3 separate regions of the Homo sapiens genome follow, and regions 2 and 3 are each linked to region 1. The links are contacts of gene promoters, found by promoter capture Hi-C in human tissues and cell types (Jung and others, 2019). All regions are on one chromosome and are shown on one strand. The core of a region is centred on a gene start or on the middle of the fragment in contact, and the rest is flanking DNA. Distances in the headings are between cores, read along the strand shown. Region 1 holds the start of ZNF879 (zinc finger protein 879). Region 2 overlaps GRM6 (glutamate metabotropic receptor 6). Region 3 overlaps ZNF454 (zinc finger protein 454).

Region 1 (3,417 bases), core at 62-2,561:
AATTTTTTTTTGAGGAACTGCCATACCGTTTTCCAGCGCAGCGCTACCATTTTACATTCCCACCATTAAGGCACAAGGATTGTTTTCTGGTTTTCTTTTTTTTCCAAATTTTATAATAGCCAACCTAATGAGTGTGAAATCGCAGTGGATGTTTGATCTGCTTTGATCTGCATTCCCCTAATGATTAGTGATGTGCATTATTATCTTTTAACAATATAAAACATCCATTTTGTTCGATTTAATTATTTTTACATTGCAATAATCTTTGTATTGTTGTAACATCGTGATCCAAGATTTCTTTTTCATATTATCTACCTGATATCTCTTAGTCCCTCTCTGCATTTTCTATCTTCAAGTACCCTTTGTGTTTAGGTTTGTCTCTGTAAACGCTAATGTTTGATATTTTAAAAATCAACACTTTCTGAGCACATAGTATTTGGCGTGTACAGTGCCGGTCACCGAGGATGCAGTTGTGATGATAGCGCTGGGAGTTGGGCTTTATTTTACGTTTTAAAGAAGTCACTTCAAAAGAAGTGAGTGCCATGAAGAGGGAAATACTAGGCTTATGCTTTTGTTTTACTCTGAGTGCCAGTAAATATGTAAAGATTACAAAAATTTATTTATTTATTTATTTATTTATTTGAGACAGAGTCTTGCTCTGTCACCCAGGCTGGAGTGCAATGGCGCGATCTGAGCTCACCGCAACCTTCGCCTCCCAGGTTCAAGCGATTCTCCTGCCTCAGCCTCCCGAATAGCTGGGATTACAGGCATGTGCCACCACGCCCGACTAATTTTTCGTGTTTTCGTAGAGACAGGGTTGCACCATGTTGGCCAAGATGGTCTCGGTCTCCTGACCTTGTGATCCGCCCACCTCGGCCTCCCAAAGTGCTGCGATTACAGGCATAAGCCACCGCGCCCGGCCGAGATTATAAAATTTAGACATAATTCATTTTTAATTAAAATCGCAGAATGGACTGTAATAGTTCTGTCACCACCTGCGAATAATCAGCAGCGGCTAGTCTTCCAGATTTAAAAATTCATACTCACTTTTCCGTCTTACTATTTTTGTCATTCTAATTACGAATACAATGGGTGGTTTAGCGGAGGGAGAGTAGTTGGAGCCCAAGCTGAGGGACTCGGCTTCAGCCTTCTCGAACTCCACAGCCCGACCGCGTTCTCCGCTCTCGGCGCTGTGGTTCTCTCTCGGACACCGTAAGTGGTGGTGCCGCAGCGACGTCTGGGAAATGAAGTCCGGAGGGACAAACGCTGCGGTTCAGCCAGGGAAACCCGTCGGCTCTCCGGCGCGCAGGCGCAGTTGCGCCCGGCAGCGACGGGAAACGTCTCTGAATTAGGTGTTCCGCTCGCCTCTTGTGCGGTGTGGAGCTGCGCGCCCCCCGCCGAGGCGGGCCCAGGTACAGGCTGCCGGTGAGGGCGGGCCCGGGGCGTGCGGCTGCCGCGGCGGGACCAGGACGAGGGCTGGCCTCTGCGCGTGTCTGCCGAGTCCCCGGCTCCGGGCGTCCGAGCCGGGGCGGCCTCGGCAGGTGAACCCGGCCCCGGAGGGGGCGTGGCCTGGGAAGGGCCTGGCGGAGGCCGGGAGGGCGCTTCGACGCCGCTGGACTCCTGGGCCGCAGCCTGGGCCGGACTCCGGGGGAAACGGCTCCAGAACAGAAACTGCAAAATGCCGCCTCGGTTCAGGGTCCGGAGCCCTCCGGGCGGTTTTTCGCTCTTAGTGTTTGTGGGTTTAAGCCTCCCCCTACTCCGTTTCCCGGAGTTTAAACTTTAGATTTACTCGTTTTTGGCAGTCTTGCACGTTTGGCAGTGTTTTCCTACAGCCAGTCCTAGAGTGATTTAACTATTTCTTTTTTTATTTACCGTAACCATGTCCACTTGCTACGTTTCTTCCCATTTCTCTAAATTTTAAATCAATTTCTAGCTAGTGATGCTGTTTTCTTGCGCCCTTGTTTTTTTGGGGCCAGGGAGAATGGGTAACGCTACCTTTAAGCAGCTTTGATAACTGTTTTTGATAAAGGAAGTAAATCTTACAAGAGGAAGAAAAGAGGACTAATTTTTGGTTGGCTGTTCCTAAAAAAGAGCATCAGTTCTTCAACTGCTGTTTTTCGTATTGAACAACATCCAAGTGCAGATGTGTGGAATATTGTGTCATTTCCTATTACTTTATCTGAATGAGCCTTGCCTGATTCTGCCCTTGACCCTGTTAAGGCACGGCAGATGGTCTTCATCCCTTCGCTCCTTTCGTCTTTATCGTAAAGCACTGGCAGAAAGGTAGCAGGCCCGGTGACTCTGAACCTGCTTCCCACACTGGTTTAAGTGGCCGGACTTAGGGCCCCTCTGGCCTGGGCAGTTCCAGGCTCCTTCTCTGCAGGTGCTCAGCTTATGGCTTCTAACCTGGTCTGGCCTAATGAGGGTGGGCATGCAGGCTGGATGAAAAGACCTCACAGCTTTTTTCTCCATTCCAGGTGCCTTCTCCAAGAGAGGCAGCAGGGAGGGAGAAATGGCAAGGAGGTTGCTGCCAGCCCATGTACAGGTGAGTGAAGGCTTCTTTTTGCTTGAACTGCCTTCAGGGTCTAGACGTGGTAAACTTCTTCATCTGTTGTTGAGCTTCTCTACCCAGTGAAGCTCAGGGAAGGACCAGAGGGCTTGGTAGCTGAGAAACTCTGGAAGGAAGGTGTTTCCCTTGCCTCAGAGCCTGTCTCATGCTTTTTTTTTTTTTTCTTTCCCTTTTTTGAGACAGGGTCTCACTCTGTTACCCAGGCTGGAGTGCAGTGGCACGGACATGGCTCACTGCAGCCTCAACCTCCCTGGTAGCTGGGACTACAGGCATGTGTGCCACCACACCCAGCTAATTTTTGTATTTTTAGTAGAGACCAGGCTTCAACAAGTTGGCAAGGCTGGTCTTGAACTCCTGACCTCAAGCAATCTGCCCGCCTCAGCCTCCTAAAGTGTTGGGACTATGGGCGTGAGCCACCGCGCCCGGCCCCCAGTCTCATGCTTTTTGACAAAGAATTTAATGGGGCTCCAATGCCAGGCCACTGCCACTACCAGAGCTTTGTGAAAGATCCAGGTGTTTTTGCCCTGTGGAGGACAAAGACACGGAGGAGTTAAATAATTCCTTCCTAACACGGGGAATTTGAAAAAGAGAGGCCCTGTATTCCCAGGACCTTGGGAGGCCAAGGTGGGCAGATCACTTGAGGTCAGAAGTTCAAGACCAGCCTGACCAACATGGTGAAACCCGGTCTCTACTAAAAATACAGAAGTTAGCTAGGGATGGTGGTGCATGCCTATAGTCCCAACTGCTCTGGAGGCTGAGGCAGGAGAATCACTTGAACCCGGGAGGCAGGGGTTGAAGCGAGCGGAGATCATGCCACTGCACTCCAGCCTGCGTGACACAGCGAGACT
Region 2 (3,749 bases), core at 880-3,379, 41 kb before region 1:
CACCTCCCAGGTTCAAGCGATTCTCCTGCCTCAGCCTCCCAAGTAACTGGGATTACAGGCACCCACCATCACACCTGGCTAATTTTTGTATTTTTAGTAGAGACAGGGTTTCACCACATTGGCCAGGCTGGTCTCGAACTCCGGACCTCAGGTGATCCACCTGCCTCGGCCTCCCAAAGTGCTGGGATTACAGGTGTGAGCCACCATGCCTGGCCAAGGTTGGGGTGATTTAAGGGAGTACACAGAGGGGAGGAAAACAGCTGTACTCTAAGTCTGACCTTGCCCAATCCCGGGGGGATGGGGGAAAGCCCATGGCATTGGGAATCTCATGGGGGCGCACCCCAGTTCCTCAGCTCACTCCCGCGCCCACTGCAGGCCCTTCCCATGCTCACAGGGGTCTCACCCAGGGTCTCTCCCTCCGTGCCAGAGGAATCCTACCCAGGCCTGAGTGCCTCCATCCAGATGCACAGCCCCAGGTCTCCTCTTGCTGAGACAGCTCCTCCTCCACTCCAACCCCATGTTTCATTCTGGGGTCTACACGTTCTTCCACACTGCCCAATCCCCAGGTTATGGGGGTTGACTGAGGGGAGGAAATCTCCCGCAAACCAGGCAAAGCCCAGGGCTTCATCATCCTCTTTGGACTTCGGATGAGAGAATAAGTTTAGTCCCTTTCTAGAGCTAGAACCTTCTCGGTGGCTGTTTCCCACCATGGGAAGCGAGTCTGGTCTGTGGTGAGGAAGCATGAAGCTCACATGCTGGAATCGGGGTAGAGCTGGGTCCAGTTCCTTCTCAAGGCCAGCCCCACCGACGCGGAGCATGGTCTTGGCAAACTCCCTGCCACTGACTGTTCACCGTGGACCCGGGCTCTATACAGCTTCCACCTCGAGGCAAGAGGAAGAAAGGAGAGGCAGCAAGCAGTCCCGTTCCCACCTGCCCTGCTACTTGTGGGCCTCTGCATCCTCGCCCTTGGGTGGGGCTGCCACCGTGGAGGTGGCCTTGAGGCTCCGCTTTCGCTTCTGCACATTCTGCTCTGGATGGAAGAGGATGACGTAGGTTTTGGGTACGTAGAGCATGCCGAGGGACACCGAGGCACTCAGGCTCAAGGACACGGTTAGCGTGGTTGTCTGGATGTAGATCTAGGCCATGGAAGAGGGGACCAGATGGGACTCAGCCCTGCTCTCCCTGCCCCGCTCCACACAGTCCTCACCACATACTCTGGAGCTGAGTCTGTTTCAGTTGGGGAACTGGGAATGAGCACTTAGACCAGGACAACAGTATGAGCAGGGGCCCCGCGCCTGAGGGGCTGGCAGCCTCCATGCAGCTCTGGTGTGGGCAGGAGGGAGGGGTGAGGAGGGGTTATTAACAGAGAGACACCTGGGGAAGCGGGAGCCGGGGCATGTCAGTGAATGAGCACGTTTCAAATACATACAAATGAATAAATGGGCAGAGACAAACTTCAGGAGCAGATGGGCAAATAAATGGATGACAGGTGCATAAAATATTCTGCCGCATACGTGAATAAATGATGCAGCAATGGGCTGACGCATTAATGGGTTGGCAGTTATAAAGCACATGAAGCCTGGGCGCAGTGGCTCACGCCTGTCATCCCAGCACTTTGGGAGGCCGAGGCAGATGGGTCACTTGAGGTCAAGAATTTGAGACCAGTCTGACTAATATGGTGAAACCCCATCTCTACTAAAATTACAAAAATTGCCCAGGCGTGGTGGCAGGCACCTGTAGTCCCAGCTACGGGGGAGGCTGAGGCTGGAGAATCACTTGACCCAGGAGGCGGAGCTTGCAGTGAGCCAAGATCACGCCACTGCACTCCAGCCTGGGCAACAGAGTGAGACTCTGTCTCAAAAAAAAAAAAAAAAAAAAAAAAAAAAGCATATGAAGAACTTGAATTAAAAAAAACAAGCTAACTGTAACTGGGTGACAGAGTGAGGCAATATCTCTCAAAGAAATGAAAATGATAAAAAAAAAAAAGAAAAAAAGAAGAGTGGAAGTTAAGAAGAGGGGTTAGAAGCTTGGAAAAGTGAATGAATGAACAAAGTAAGAAGGGAATGAGTGAATGAACAAGCAGCCAGATACGGGATAAACAAAAGCACGAACAAGCATTTAATCTCATGAATGAATCGACCAGCCTGACAGGCAGGAAACAGGCAGCGAGACCTCCTGGGGACCTCATTACCTTTTCAGCTGACTGGGCAGTGCCAAAGAAGATGGGCACGAATGCCAGCCAGATGATGCAGGTGGTGTACATGGTGAAGCCGATGGGCTTGGCCTCGTTGAAGGTCTCGGGCACGCCACGGGCCTTGATGGCGTACACTGTGCACGTGACCATGAGCAGGAGGCTGTAGCCCAGGCAGCCGATGAGAGACAGATCCGACATGTCGCACTTGAGCACCCCTCTGGCCTGCTCGGGGTCCACCGTCCGCTGTTCCTCATAGTCAATCACGCTGTGTGGGGGCCGGGCCCCCAGCCATGCTATCATCCCCACCACCTGCAGGAGCCAACACTGCATCAGACACAGCACTTTCCAGGGACAAATCCATTCCAGCCCTGACAGAGGCCCCTGCGGGTCAGGATCCCCTTGAGGCTCTGGCCTATGGAGGGGATGCTCCACCTCTTCGTGGTGGCTCTCAGGAGCACTCAGTGGAGAAGAGGGGATGGCAGCCCAGGCAGGGGCAGCCCAAGAGGGGTCCGTCCAAAGGCCCGTGACCTGGCAGCTGCGGAGAAGGGCTGTGCCGCCCGTATATGTTGGCAACATCAGTGCAGTGTGCATAAGGGGCAGCTTGGTGTCCTCTTCCTGCATTCTAGCCATTACCAATGCCATTTACTGCGCCCCTTCAAGGTAGATGGATGTGGCCGGAAGCTCTGGAACTGAGGCCCTACTCGCATCGCCTCTCTAGCCTCCTCACGTGTACTGAGCTTCAAAATCAGGGCACGCCACAGGCAAGAGAAACAAAGGAGCACTCAGTGGGGAGGAGCAGGAATGGGAGCTGATGCCGAGGAGTACTGGAGTCTGTGCAGGCCCTCACAGGGAGGAGATGGAGTTACCACTCCCTCACATGACAGGAAGCACAACCTCAAGCCAAGGAAAGCTGGGGAACAGGAACGAAGCCACCTGCATAAAGGCGGGACCCTGGAAGGGCTGCCCCACACGTTCGTGCTGGTTGTTCACTGTACGAGAGCGCCTGATTGGGGGCAGGGGTGGAGCTGGAATCCAGCCTGCATGCCAGTGCCATGCCGAGCACCTGGAGCAGGGCCATGTGATCCTGCTGGAAGGGATGCTTTGCAGTCATCTGCCCACCCAGAAGCAGCAGCTTTTTGTGCTTCTCCCAAAGGCAGCAGACCCCTGAACAAAGGACCTTCCAAATAAGTGGATCACGAGGTCAGGAGATCGAGACCAACTTCCAAAATAAGTTTGGAAGTTCCTACTAGAACAAGGCTCCAGGTGGAAAAAAAAAAAGTTGCTCATGAGAAACAAAAATGCAAGCCCAGGGCTGCACAGCGGTAACCACCAAAACGGCCCACAGATGCCGCAGCCCGTGGAGTGGGGAGCGAGCGAGCACGCCTCACTCGGAACGGACTCCTGCAAAATAACAGCAAATGAGCAAAGGACAGGAACAGGCTGAGCCCAGGAGAGGAAAGCCCCATGGCCGGCGCACTGGTGCTAAGTGCAGGCGAATTGAAGCCACAGTGAGATGCCATTTTGCAGCCCGTCATGACGTGGTAGTCATGGCAAA
Region 3 (3,817 bases), core at 1,092-3,591, 62 kb before region 1:
TGGGTTGTTGAGATCATTTCCTTTTTTTTTTGAGACGGAGTCTCGCTCTGTTGCCCAGGCTGGAGTGCAGTGGCACAATCTCAGCTCACTGCAAGCTCCACCTCCTGGGTTCACGCCATTCTGCTGCCTCATCCTCCTGAGTAGCTGGGACTACAGGCGCCCACCACCACGCCTGGCTAATTTTTTGTATTTTTAGTAGAGACGGGGTTTCACCGTGTTAGCCAGGATGGTCTCGATCTCCTGACCTCGTGATCCACCCGCCTCGGCCTCCCAAAGTGCTGGGATTACAGGCATGAGCCACCGTGCCCGGCCCCTTTTTTTCTTTTCTTTTCTTTTTTTCTTTCTTTTCTTTTCTTTTCTTTTTTTTGTTTTTTGAGACAAGTTCTTGCTCTGTTGCCCAGGCTGGAGTGCAGTGGTGTGATCATTGTTCATGGCAACCTTGAACTCCTGGGCTTATGGCGATCCTCCCACCTCAGCCTCCTGAGTAGCTGGGACTACAGGAACACATCACCATGCCTGGCTGATTTTTAAAATTTTTTGTAGAGACGAGGTTTCACCATATTGCCCAGTCAGGTCTTGGACTCCTAGACTCAAGCGGTCCTCCTGCCTTGGCCTCCCAAAGCACTGGGATTACAAGCATGAGCCACTGTGTCCAGCCCATTCCTTTTCTTTTTTTTTTTTTGAAACGTAGTTTCGCTCTTGTTGCCCAGGCTGGAGTGCAATGGAAAGATCTTGGCTCACTGCAACTTCCACCTCCCCGGTTCAAGCGATTCTCCTGCCTCAGCCTCCGGAGTAGTTGGGATTACAGGCATGTGCCACCACGCCCGGCTAATTTTGTATTTTTAGTAGAGACGGGGTTTCTCCTTGGTCAGGCTGGTCGCAAACTCCGGACCTCAGGTGATCCACCCGCCTTGGCCTCCCAAAGTTCTGGGATTACAGGCATGAGCCACCACACCTGGCCAGCCCATTCCTTTTCTTAATGGTTTGATTTCTGAGTCATTGAGGGTGCCATATGAACATTTTTCACTATGATTATTGATTTATCTATTTTTCCTTTTTATTCTATTTTTACTTTATACATTTTTAAAGTTATGTTGTGTGCATACAAATGAAAATTTGTTGTATGTTCCTGGAGAATTGACCCTTTTGTCTATATAAAATACCTTAAAGTCTGTTTTCTCCAATACTGTGTGATTTGTCTGATATTAGTATGGGTATAGCACCTTTCTTTTGTATGATATATCCTTTTTAATTATTTTATTATTTCAGTGTCTATATTTTTGGTATTTCTTTTCTAAATGATACTCAGTTATGTTTTATTTGTTCATCCAGTCTCACAATCTTTTTTTTTTTTTTTGAGACACAGTCTCACTCTGTCGCCAGGCTGGAGTGCAGTGGCACGATCTCAGCTCACTGCAACCTCTGCCTCCTGGGTTCAAGCGATTCTTCTGACTCAGCCTCCCAAGTAGCTGGGATTACAGGTGCGTGCCACTGCACCCGGCTAATTTTTGTATTTTTAGTAGAGACGGGGTTTCACCACGTTGGCCAGGATGGTCTCAATCTCTTGACCTCGTGATCTGTCCGCCTCAGCCTCCCAAAGTGCTAGGATTACAGGCAAGAGCCACCACACCTGGCCCACAATCTTAGTTTTTAAAAATAACTTAGGTAAGTTACTATGTATGGGATTTTATATCTACTATCCTATTATTTATTTTATATTTCACTTACTTGCTTTAAATTCCTTGTCCTTTTTTCCTTCCTTCTATTGGATTAAATACTTTTATTGTGCCATTTTCACTCTGTATTAGCTTGTTAATTAACCTTCTTTACTTAGTCTTTTATTGTTAATAAATAAAACCAGCTTATTACTGTCCAAAATAAATTTTTACTTTTAATAAAATTAAAATTATTGTTACAATCTTAAAAATTAACAGCATTTTTGGCCAGGTGTGGTGGCTCACGCCTGTAATCCCAGCATTTTGGGAGGCCAAGGCGGGCGGATTGCCTCAGCTCAGGAGTTCGCAACCAGCCTGGGCAACACGGTGAAACCCTGTCTCTAGTAAAACACAAAAAAAAAATTAGCTGGGCATGGCAGCGTGCACCTGTAGTCCCAGCTACTCGGGAGGCTGAGGCAGGAGAATCGCTTGAATCCAGGAGGCAGAGGTTGCAGTGAGCTGAGATCACCACTGCACTCCAGCCTGGGCAACAGAGCGAGACTCTGTCTCAAAAAAAAAAAAAAAATTAACAGCATTTTCTTCCTTCTACCTTTATTTTTGCTATGTATTTTAATTCCACATATATTTGCAATCCATTAAGACATTATAATTATTGTCTCATATAATCAATTGTATTTTTGCTTATCCATATATTTAACTTTTCCATTGCTTTTCATGCCTTCTTACATTTTCATATTTCCACATGGAATTATTTTTCTTCTGCCTGGAACACATCTGTGTTTCTTTTAATGTAGATCTGCTGGTGACACCATCTCTGTTTTTATTTGTATGGAAATATCTACTTCAAGTTTAATTTTTAGAGATATTTTCTCTGTGTGTTGAATTCTAGCTTGACAGTTCGGTTCTTTCACCGCTTCAGATGTTACTTCATTGTCTTCTGGGTTCCATTGTTTTCATTAAGACACTGCCAGTCTTAGTTTTGCTTTTTCAAAGGTAGTGTATCATTTGTTTTTTTCAAGCAACTTTCAAGGTAATCTTCAGTTTTCAGTAGTGCCTAGCTGAGGTGCCTAGGTGAATTTTCTTTGTAGTTATCCTTGGAGTTTATAGCCCTTCTCAGAGTTCATTTTTCAACCTTTTTGTTTTTAAATAATGTTTAGTTTTTTAGCCATGTTTTACTATGGATATTTTCTGCTTATGTATTTTTGTAGCTCACTATTCCTCTTTTCTGCTATATTTGATATCTTGTTAAAGACTATTGAATTCATAATTTTGGTTATTGTATTTCTCAGTTCTAGAATTTCCATTTGATTATTTGGTTCCAATTCTTTGTTGTAATTCTCATTCCTGTTTCCTTGAACATATTAATCACAGTTATTTTAAGGTTCACGTCTGATAACTCTGGTATCTGTGTTCTACGGTTCTTTTTCTATTGTCTGTTTTTCCCTCTTCATTGAATTTCTTAGCACAGCTGGCCTTTTTTATTGTATCCCTGACACTATATGTGAAGGAGAGCAGAGGCTCTAGATGTTGTTCTTCCAGAGAAGATTTAACTTCCCTGGTAGCAGCTAGAGTGCAAGCAAACCATCTTAGTCCAGCCAAGGCCTGTAATAGCTGGAGGTTGGTCACAATATTTGTAAAGCTATGTCAACTGCTCATTTGCCCGTACTACTAGTTTTGTAGCCCTGCAGGAGTCCCGGCTGAGAGCTTCACATGTTATTATGACCTCTCCTTGGAAGGTCCTGGTTCTGTTGTACTAAAAGACTAGAAAATTCTGGATTTCTGCTTAACTTTAATCTTTTGCCCTGTAAAGCTTAAGAATTCAATAAAATGTTTGAGTAACAAGCCACTGAGTATTGGGATCACCTCTCTATATTTTCATTCTCTCCCAAATATTAGACTATAAAGTCTGCCTGGGTGACATCTGATGCCTTCAGACAGATAACTTTTTCCAATTCAGATTTTCTAGTTGTTTTCTGCAGAAATGTTAGTCTGCCACAGTCTACTCTATTTGGGCCAGAAGTGGAAGTCAGTCCTTAACATTTTGACATTTGGCAATACCGATGTTTAACTTTGACCATTCTTTGTTTTGAACAAGGATATATTATTCTGAGCTCAACAGGATTTTAGTCTTGAAATGCGCC

The links. Contacts are between HindIII fragments. The study calls those that stand out against the background at their distance.
Region 2: a contact is called between a fragment that was not itself captured here and the fragment with the promoter of ZNF879 in region 1, in 3 of the 25 tissues and cell types used here (dorsolateral prefrontal cortex, psoas muscle and spleen).
Region 3: a fragment that was not itself captured here is called in contact with the fragment with the promoter of ZNF879 in region 1 in 2 of the 25 tissues and cell types used here (dorsolateral prefrontal cortex and spleen).

What each region holds. Positions count from the first base shown.
Region 1 is chr5:179,022,493-179,025,909 of GRCh38, forward strand. It overlaps ZNF879 (zinc finger protein 879), which reads left to right and starts at 1,312. Exons shown (of 5, transcript NM_001136116.3): 1 at 1,312-1,412; 2 at 2,478-2,545. The coding sequence starts at 2,513. RefSeq lists an enhancer at 940-1,441. The HindIII fragment of the contact is 17,237 bases long and covers 1-3,417 here.
Region 2 is chr5:178,980,719-178,984,467 of GRCh38, forward strand. GRM6 (glutamate metabotropic receptor 6) reads right to left here. Exons shown (of 11, transcript NM_000843.4): 10 at 2,192-2,503; 11 at 1-1,136. The coding sequence ends at 939. It also overlaps a transcript of ZNF454 not described here. Among named protein-coding and RNA genes, the nearest start is that of GRM6, 13 kb to the right of the region's middle. RefSeq lists an enhancer at 2,007-2,176. The HindIII fragment of the contact is 5,310 bases long and covers 1-3,749 here.
Region 3 is chr5:178,959,593-178,963,409 of GRCh38, forward strand. All of the region lies in intron 4 of ZNF454 (zinc finger protein 454), which reads left to right. Among named protein-coding and RNA genes, the nearest start is that of ZNF454, 20 kb to the left of the region's middle. The HindIII fragment of the contact is 4,453 bases long and covers 116-3,817 here.